3 separate regions of the Homo sapiens genome follow, and all the other regions are linked to region 2. The links are contacts of gene promoters, found by promoter capture Hi-C in blood cells and fetal thymus (Javierre and others, 2016). All regions are on one chromosome and are shown on one strand. Each heading gives the region's core, a stretch centred on a gene start or on the middle of the fragment in contact. The rest is flanking DNA. Distances are from core to core; before and after follow the strand shown.

The links. The method cuts DNA at HindIII sites, captures the fragments that hold promoters and counts their contacts. A CHiCAGO score of 5 or more calls a contact.
Region 1: a contact is called between a fragment that was not itself captured here and the fragment with the promoter of PPIG in region 2, in 3 of 17 cell types (fetal thymus, naive B cells and naive CD8 T cells). The highest score is 5.9, in fetal thymus.
Region 3: a fragment that was not itself captured here is called in contact with the fragment with the promoter of PPIG in region 2 in 4 of 17 cell types (total B cells, activated CD4 T cells, erythroblasts and 1 more); the score reaches 5.6 in total B cells.

The regions. Positions count from the first base shown.
Region 1 is chr2:169,842,235-169,845,397 of GRCh38, forward strand. All of the region lies in intron 1 of UBR3 (ubiquitin protein ligase E3 component n-recognin 3), which reads left to right. Among named protein-coding and RNA genes, the nearest start is that of UBR3, 16 kb to the left of the region's middle. The HindIII fragment of the contact is 881 bases long and covers 823-1,703 here.
Region 2 is chr2:169,582,451-169,585,730 of GRCh38, forward strand. PPIG (peptidylprolyl isomerase G) reads left to right here and starts at 1,901. Exons shown (of 14, transcript NM_004792.3): 1 at 1,901-2,040. RefSeq lists an enhancer at 1,817-1,866. The HindIII fragment of the contact is 789 bases long and covers 1,626-2,414 here.
Region 3 is chr2:169,874,991-169,878,243 of GRCh38, forward strand. UBR3 (ubiquitin protein ligase E3 component n-recognin 3) reads left to right here. Exons shown (of 39, transcript NM_172070.4): 3 at 801-959; 4 at 2,504-2,647. Among named protein-coding and RNA genes, the nearest start is that of UBR3, 49 kb to the left of the region's middle. The HindIII fragment of the contact is 2,586 bases long and covers 5-2,590 here.

The DNA.
Region 1 (3,163 bases), core at 13-2,512, 260 kb after region 2:
CTGCTCTCGTGGGGCCTTGGAGAACCTGTGTGTCGAAACTCTGTATCTAACTAATCTGATGGGGACGTGGAGAACCTTTGTATCTAGCTCAGGGATTGTAAACGCACCAATCAGCGCCCTGACAAAACAGGCCACTGGGCTCTACCAATCAACAGGATGTGGGTGGGGCCAGATAAGAGAATAAAAGCAGGCTGCCCTAGCCAGCATTGGCAACCCTCTCGGGTCCCCTTCCACACTGTGGAAGCTTTGTTCTTTCACTCTTTGCAATAAATCTTGCTACTGCTCACTCTTTGGGTCCACGCTGCTTTTATGAGCTGTGACACTCACCGTGAAGATCTGCAGCTTCACTCCTGAGCCCAGCGAGACCACGAGCCCGCCAGGAGGAACGAACAACTCCAGACGCGCTGCCTTAAGAGCTGTAACACTCACCGTGAAGGTCTGTAGCTTCACTCCTGAGCCAGCGAGACCACGAACCCACCAGAAGGAAGAAACTCCGAACACATCTGAACATCAGAAGGGACAGACTCCAGACACGCCACCTTAAGAGCTGTAACACCGCGAGGGTCCGCGGCTTCATTCTTGAAGTCAGTGAGACCAAGAACCCACCAATTCTGGACACAGTAGGACATGGGTACAATTCAGCCAATTTTTTTGCCATTTTGTAAAAAGAATGGTCTTTCCTCCAGTTTCTGATACGATATTCCTCATTTCTGTTTAAGAGATCATCAGAATGGCTTTTGCTATCCATATTTCTACCAACATTCCATTCTTCCTTTTAGCCCTCACTGGAACTATCCTTAATGCTTCTTTTATGGCAATCTAAGCTTTTCCTAGCATTCACTTCAAAACTACTCCAGCCTCTACCTATTACCCAGTTCAAAAGCCACTTCCACATTTTCAGGTATTTATTATAGCAACGACATCATTTCTTCGTATCAATTTCTGGCTTAGTTCATTTTGTGCTGTTATAACAAAATACCTGAGACTGAGTAATAAAGAACAGAAATTATTTCTTACAGTTTGAAGGCTGGGAAGTCCAAGATCAAAGCACTCATATTTGGGATCTGGTGAGGGCCTTCTGCTGCATCTTCACATGGTGGAAGGGGTGAAAAGAGCAAAAGGGGCAGATCTTGTGTCCTCATATGGTGGAAGAGTGGATAAGCAAAAGGGGCCTGAGCTAGTTCTGTCCAGCCCTTTTATAAGGCACTAATCCATCTGAGAGGGCAGACCCCTAATGATGTAATCACTTCCCCAAAGGCCCTGCCTCTTAATACCACCACAGTGGGGATTCAGTTACAAACCTGAGTTTTGGAGAGGTAACATATTCAAACCATAACACCATGTATGTAGTATTACACATGGAATAATTATTGACTATTGAACCAGTCTTGCATTTCTGGGATAAAATCCACGTCATGATATATTATCCTTTTATAGATTGCTGGATTTAAGTTGCTTGTATTTTGACATGAGGATTTTTGTATCTGTAGTCAAGAGGGATATTGTACTGTAGTTTTCTTCTTTTGCAATATCTCTGTCTGATTTTGGTCTCAGGGTAAAGCTGGCTTCATAAATGAGTTGGGAAGGGCACCCTCCTCTTTATTTTGTAAGAGTTTGTGTAGAATATGACATTATTCCTTTTTTAAATATCTTGATAGAGTTTGTCCGTGAAACAATCTAGGTTTGGAATATTTGTTGTTGGAAGCTTTTTAGCTGTAACATTTGTTGAATAAGGTTTTAACATACTCCATTTCTTTTCTTTTTTCTCTTTACTTTTTTTTTTTTTTTTGAGACTGAGTTTCGCTCTTTTTGCCCAGGCTGGAGTGCAATGGCGCGACCTCGGCTCATTGCAACCTCAGCCTCCTGGGTTCAGTTGATTCTCCTGCCTCACCCTCCCTAGTAGCTGGGATTACAGGTGCCTGCCACCACGCCTGGCTAATTTTTGTATTTTTAGTAGAGATAGGGTTTCACCATGTTGGCCAGGCTGGTCTCAAACTCAGGCGATCCACCCGCCTCAGCCTCCCAGAGTGCTGGGATTACAGGCGTGAGCCACTGCACCCGGCCTCATATTCGATTTCTTTAGTGACCTGTATCATTTATTCAGTACTTTTTTTTCTTTATGTGAGCTTTGACAGTTTGAATCTTTCATGAAGTTTGTCCATTTCATCTAAGTTGTTGAATTTATGGGCAGAATGTTGTTTGTACTATTTCTCCTTATTTTCTCAATGTCTGTAAAGTATGTAGTGAAACCCTCTCTCTTTTTTTTTTTTTTTTTTTGAGACAGGGTCTTACTCTGTCACCCAGGATGGAGTGCAGTGGTGCAGTCGTGGCTCACTGCAACCTCTGCCTCCTGGGTTCAAGCGATTCTTCCTCCTCAGCCTCCCCAGTAGCTGGAACTACAGGTGTGCACCACTGCGCCTAGCTAATTGTTTTGTATTTTTTGGTAGAGATGGCATTTCACCATGTTGGCCAGGCTGGTCTCTAATTCCTGACCTCAGGTGATCTGCTACGTCGGCCTCTCAAAGTGCTGGGATTACAGGTGGGAGCCATCGCGCCTGGCTGGCTTTTTATCACTTTTGTTACTTTTTCAAGGAACCAGCTTTTGGTTTTACTGATTTTTTGTTGTTGTTGTTCTCAATTTCATTGATATCTGCTCTTTATTATTTTCTTCCTTCGTTTTGTTTGAATTTAATTTCCTAGTCTTTTTATGGTTTCTTAAGGTGGCAGCTTAGATTTGTAGTCTTCTTTTCTAATAAGATATAATGCAATAAATTTCCCTCTAAGCACAGTGTACAGGCATCCCACATTTTTGATATATTTTCATTTTTATGCAGTTCAAAATATCTTCTATTTTCTGTGATCTCCTCTTTAGCCAATGGGTCATTTAGAAGTTTTGAGTTTTTTAAGGCTGGGAGTGGTGGCTTCTGCCTGTAATCCCAGCACTCTGGGAGGGTGAGGGTGGTGAATCACTTGAGCTCAGGAGCTGGAGACCAGCCTGGGCAACATGTTAAGACCTCATCTTTATAAAAACTAGAAAAATTAGCCAGGCATGGTGGCGTGTGCCTGTAGTCCCAGCTACTCAGAAAGCTGAGGTAGGAGGGTTACTTGAGTCTGGGATATAGAGGCTGCAGTGAGCCAGGATGGCGCCACTGCATTCCAGTCT
Region 2 (3,280 bases), core at 651-3,150:
TTGTTACAGAGGTAAACTTGTGTAATGGGGGTTTGTTGTACAGAATATTTCATCACCTAGGTATTAAGTCTAGGACCCATTAGTTATTTTTCCTGATCCTCTCCCTCCTCCCACTGTCTACACTCTGATAGGCCCCAGTGTGTATTGTGCCCCTCTATGTCTTCATGTGTTCTCATCATTTAGCTCCCACTTATAAGTGAGAACATGTGGTACTTGGTTTTCTGTTTCTGCATTAGTTTGCTAAGGATAATGGTCTCCAGCTCCATCCATGTTCCTGCGAAGGGCATGAGATCATTCTTTTTCATGGCTGCATAGTATTCCATGGAGTATATGTACCACATTTTCTTTATCAAGTCTACCATTGATGGACATTTAGGTTGACTCCATGTCTTCGCTATTGTGAATAGTGTGGCAATGAACATACATATGTGTATGTCTTTATAACAGAACAACTTATATTCCTTTGGGTATATACCCAGTAATGTGATTGCTGGGTCAAATGGTATTTCTGCCTCTAGGTCTTTGAGGAATCGCCACGCTGTCTTCCACAATAGTTGAATTCATTTAAACTCCCACCAGCACTGTAAAATGTTCCTTTTTCTCCACAACCTCACCAGCACCTGTTATTTTTTGACTTTTTAATAATAGCCATTCTGACTGGTATGAGATAGTATCTCACTGCGGTTTTGATTTGCATTTTTCTGATGATTGGTGGTGTTGAGCTTTTTCATTATGATTGTTGGCTGCAAGTATGTCTTCTTTCGAAAAGCGTTGGCCGGGCGTGGTGGCTCACACCTGTAATCCCGGCACTTTGGGAGGCCAAGGAGGACGGATCACCTGAGGTTGGGAGTTTGAGACCAGCCTGACCTACATGGAGAAACCCTGTCTCTACTAAAAATACAAAAAATTAGCCAGGCCAGTCTGTGGCCCAGGGGTTGGGGACCCCTGTTTTAAGGTATTGCAGAATTGTCCCCTCCACACACAGCGAAGTGTAAATCCGTTTAATCTCTGAACTATCTAAAGATGAATATGCTGCTGCTCTCCTGCAATAAAGGGCAATGACTTAAAAGAGGTGGGGGTGGAGAGGCAGAAATGTCCTCTGTTTTACTGCTGTGTAAAACTGGTCACGCCCCTTAGAAGCACCACCACATGCCTAACTGTTGTTGATAATTAATTTACCTGATGCAAGTGAGTGAAAAATTTAAATGATCATAATTTACGTTGCCTTTAAACGACAGAACAATTTAAGTCCTCTAGTTAGCTAGTTCCTTTAAAACACACCCCACATCCCTACCAGAATCACTGCCCATCCCCCCCCACCCCCCCGCCCAAACAGCAATGGTTATTTATTTCTAACATAATCCGGGGACCCTTGCCCCTTAAAATAATTAAATAATATATGCCATATTTTCTCTAGAAGGCACTAGATTTGGCATCAAAAGACTTGCTTTGGCATTCAAGAACAGTGTGTTTGAGGAGGAGGCGTTTATCTTCCCTGAGCCTCAATTTCTTTATCTGTAAAACAACAAAGAACATCAAAGCTCTTTGTAATTTCTTCCTCTTTCCTCAAATAACACTTTGCTCATTACTGCGTTTTTAGAACTTATATCCTAGCGTTAAGTGGAAGCTTAACTGGAAGCTCCATGAAGGTAGGCCTTCCTTTCTGATAACCTAGCGTAAGATCAATAAATGTTTATTAAATGAGGCACTTTACTTCACAAAGGATATGGCATTTTAACGGTTACAAGCGTTCCCAGTCAACGCATCCACAAAGCATTAGGCCACCTATAAACTAGGAATTTAAAAGGCACCAAAATCCTAGAAGTCCTAGGAGGGCGTGGTGACGCAAGCAGGTGAACGCTGGCCGATGCTGACAACCCACTCCTGACGCGCTTCCGGTGCGACGCTGTCTCTCCATGCCAGGACTGAGTTGTGGGGGAGGGAGGCGGTTAGCGGGCTTTAGCGCCTTTTCTGGCGGCGGTAGATTTGAAGCGCTTCAAAGGACCGGACCCAGAGAAGAGGAAAACTCTACCGGTGCAGGTAAGTGGTATGAGGCTCAAGTTGTTCTGGCGGCGTCATTTCAGCAGTCCCTGCGTACGAAAGCGGGAAGGGCCTGGGAAGAGGGGCGGAGCCGGCGCGGCTGACCGGGTTGGGTTTACCGTCTTTCCCTCGAGGTATCGGGGCTGCTTGGGCCCAGAGGAAGTCCCTGAGGACCGCAGCAGTGCCTTTGCCGCTGTTGCAGAAGGAGAAGGCTTGCAGTCGAGCCCCGGGGCCTGGGGACGGTCCTTCCTCTGCCAGCCCCCGCCCTCCCCACTCAGGCGCACACCTCCCTCACTGACGCATTTTGCCGCACAAGCTGTAACATGGCGGCAGCGACTGCGGCCTGAACTCTAGGGAGCCGGGTTGATTTTTAAAGCTTCAAAATCCTAAGACTCAGCACTGTTGCGGGGTAGGTGGCGGGACTGGTGGGGAAGGGGGAGACAGCCTGACGTCCTGTCAGGCTAGGGTTGGAGAGTGACGGGCGAAGAGCCTGAATCACAGGGATTAAAATTGAAGACTAGCTTTCCTCCTCTTTCGACCTTTTCCTCTCACAGCACAGTGGCTGTCGTGCAGTTAAGTGGCAGAGGCCACTTTGTTAAGCATTTTTCTAAAACTCAAGTCCAGGGTCTTGAGCTCTCGCGAAGTTCCCCCGTGTTTCGGAGGAGCTGTGAGCTGCGCAGGCCTTTTAGGAGGAGATAATTACTCTTTAGGAGGAAGATGATGATTTCGGGGCTCAGTATGCCTGAAGGGGAAGTATGCTAATTTGGTTCTTGGTTAGTCTTTTTTTTTGAGACGGAGTCTCGCTCTGTCGCCTAGGCTGGAATGCAGTGGCGCGATCTTGGCTCACTGCAACCTCCGCCTCCTGGGTTCAAGTGATTCTTCTGCCTCAGCCTCCCAAGTAGCTGGGACTACAGGCACGTGCCACCATGCCCGGCTAATTTTTTGTGTTTTTAGTAGAGACGGGTTTTCACCGTGTTAGCCAGGATGGTCGATCTCCTGACCTCGTGATCCGCCCACCTCGGCCTCCCAAAGTGCTGGGATTACAGGCGAGAGCCACCGCGCACGGCCAGCTCATGTTTAGTCTTAAGGAGCAAAGTCTAGATGTGCTGGCAAGGAGTATGCACAATCGTTTTGGAAATGCTATAAAAGCACCATTTTGTGCATTGATTTTAATTTCTTTCCACGATAGCCCTTTCTGTGTGTAACCAACATTTTGCAGTAGTGAACACAAATACAAAAG
Region 3 (3,253 bases), core at 48-2,547, 290 kb after region 2:
TCCAAGCTTTTCTTTCTCTCCATCTCTATTTGCCTGTTTTTTTTTTAGTTTTTAATACAATTATTCATATTTATGAAAAGTTATCTTTCACTTTAGTTGCTTTGACCTTCAGCTAACATGTATCTGTATTTTTGGAATATTATAGGGGATAGGTTATTTGTTATACAGGTTTAAATTTGACATAATACTCTTATACTACTCTCAATGTATTTGAATTATATCTTGTTTTATTCTAGGATGTGATCTAAACTTTTTCTTAAATACTATCTTTTTTTGAAATGATCTTATGATGACATTTATATATGTGGAAGTATAGGGCCCACAGATCAAATGCTGCTGCTTCTTTTTGTTGTTTTTGAGATGGGGTGTCACTCTGTTGCCCAGGCTGGAGTACAGTGGCATGATCTCAGTTCACTGCCACCTTCACCTCCAGGCTTAAGCCATCCTCCTGCCTCAGACTCCTGAGTAGCTGGGACTACAGGCGCGCACCACCACACTTGGTTAATTTTTTGTATTTAAATGCTTCTTACACAAATTAAGTGCTTCATATCTTAGGAGGTCATCTGTGTTTTTCCATCTACTGTTTTCCAAAGGACTGAATTCCTGAGCAAGTCTACCCTTGCTTGGCTAGGTGCTGGGCAGATACCAATTTCTAAACAGAGTTCTTGTATTGACTTTTTTGATTATAAAATACTATAATTTAAGCCATTATAATTTTAAAAGAATAAATACTGTTATTTTTAGTAAGATATTTTAAACAAAATTACCCTTATTTGATTTTTTTTCTTTTTTTCTTTTAGCAGCTGATGGACCATCAGAAAAGGACCTTAACAAAGTCCTTCAGCTTTTGGAACCTCAAATTTCCTTTTTAGAAGACCTGACTAAAATGGGAGGAGCAATGCGGTCTGTTCTTACTCAGGTTTTGACAAACCAACAAAACTACAAAGATCTGACTTCTGGTGAGTAAAATGTTAGAAGAAATTTATAGTTTTCATATCTTACTATAATGATAAGAAATTGAGTCTTTTAGAACTTAAAGGTAAATTGTAGAATTTTCATAGAATGCTAAAGCTGGAAGTTATTAAGAGAACTTCTTTTTTTTTTTTTTTTTGAGACGGAGTCTAGCTCTGTCGCCCAGGCTGGAGTGCAGTGGCGCAATCTCGGCTCACTGCAAGCTCCGCCTCCTGGGTTCACGCCATTCTGCCTCAGCCTCCCGAGTAGCTGGGACTACAGGCGCCCGCCACTACGCCCAGCTAATTTTTTGTATTTTTAGTAGAGGCGGGGTTTCACTGTGTTAGCCAGGATGGTCTCGATCTCCTGACCTCATGATCCGCCCGCCTTGGCCTTCCGAAGTGCTGGGATTACAGGCGTGAGCCACTGCGCCTGGCAAGAGAACTTCTTGTTTTATGGATGAGGAAATTGAGCCCTAGGAAAATGAAATGGCCTGTTTAAACCTCACAATTAATTTATGTTGGAGTTGGTACTGGAACCTAGGTCTCCTAACTTTTGGTGTGACATGATAATTATGCTCTGCCTCTCTTTATTGTATTGTATTGTATTGTATTGTATTGTATTGTATTTTTTTGAGACAGAGTCTTGCTCTGTTGCCCAGGCTGGAGTGCAGTGGCGTGATCTCAGCCCACTGCAACCTCTGCCTCCTGGGTTCAAGCGATTCTCCTGCCTCAGCCTCCCGAGTAGCTGGGATTACAGGTACCTGCCATCATGCCCAGCTAATTTTAATTTTTGTATTTTTGTAGAGACAGGGTTTTAACCATGTTGGCCAGGCTGGTCTTGAGCTCCTGACCTCGGGTGATCTGCCAGCCTTGGCCTCCTAAAGTGCTGAGATTACAGGCATGAGCCACCACGCCCGGCCCTACGTCTCTTTCTTTAAACGCAAGGCTGAGAAGTGATCCCCTTTCTTTAACAGTAACAACCATCATGTCTATGTTTTCACTTTTGATATTTTAAGTTTTTGTGTTGTATCGCCTAGGATTTTCTAATATACAGCTTAAGTTATAAAACTTGGAATTGTTGAATGGTGTATTGTTATACAAAACATTCATACGCCTTTCCCAAGCACTCTGCTTTCGATAACTGCATGCTTGGTATTACGAGAGCACAGACTGTCAAACCAGAAGGTGAATTCCGCTACATAATTATTATCTACCATATTACCTCTCTGACTTTCTTTACTGTAATTTTCAGGTTCCTTTAAAGTTCGGATCATGTCTTATTAATTCTTGTGCCCCACATTCCCTTGGATATTTTAGATGCCCACCTACTTTGTAGATTTCATTATTTGGTATAAACATGCTGTGTATTCTCGGATTGTTAGTGCTAAACATAAGCACAAAAGTGTTATTTGAAGCTATCTTATATTATTCATTCTAGGGCTCCCACTCCATTAGAATATTCACCTATTTATAGATACTAGTTAATGAAAAGACCATACTGAGATTTTGAATGGAATATTTTTTTCTGATTTGAAGTTTGTTTTAATTAGGTCTTGGAGAAAATGCTTGTGTAAAGAAAAGTCATGAAAAGTACCTTATAGCTTTAAAGAGCTCTGGACTTACATATCCTGAGGATAAGCTTGTATATGGTGTGCAGGAGCCATCTGCTGGTACTAGTTCTCTGGCTGTTCAAGGTTTGTCTAAATATTTAATTTGAACAGTTGTAACTTTTCTGTATTAAAACCAAAAAAACCTCTCAAACTTTACTCATTATTGAAAAAAATTATTTTGAACTAAAACAGTATTATTCTTTTTAAGAAAAGTAATAAAAGTAGTAAAAATTTAGAGGCAAAAAAGAATAGATTGACCAAAGAAGAGAATGCATTTTTCTTAAATGGAATTTGATTAGCTTATTAAGGTTCTGGTTCTAACTCATGAAAAATGTACAGTTGCTATTCAAGAGTAGCCCAAAACTTTACTGCCTCAATATTTTAGTAAACTATGGTTTAAAACTAAAAAGAGATCCTTCTGAAACACCATTTGTAATAACTGTATTAAATCTGAGTTTTCACTGGAGAATTCCTATTGAAGTATCAACCTATTAGGTCCAAACTTATTTGAGATAAATGTTGGAGGCTGGGCACGGAGGCTTATGCCTATAAATCCCAGCAGTTTGGGAGGCCGAGGTGGGTGGATCACCTGAGGTCGGGAGTTTTGAGGCCAAAATGGCCAACATGGTGAAACCTCGTCTTTACTAAAATACAAAAATTAGCTGGGCGTGCTGGCAGGCGCCTGTAAGC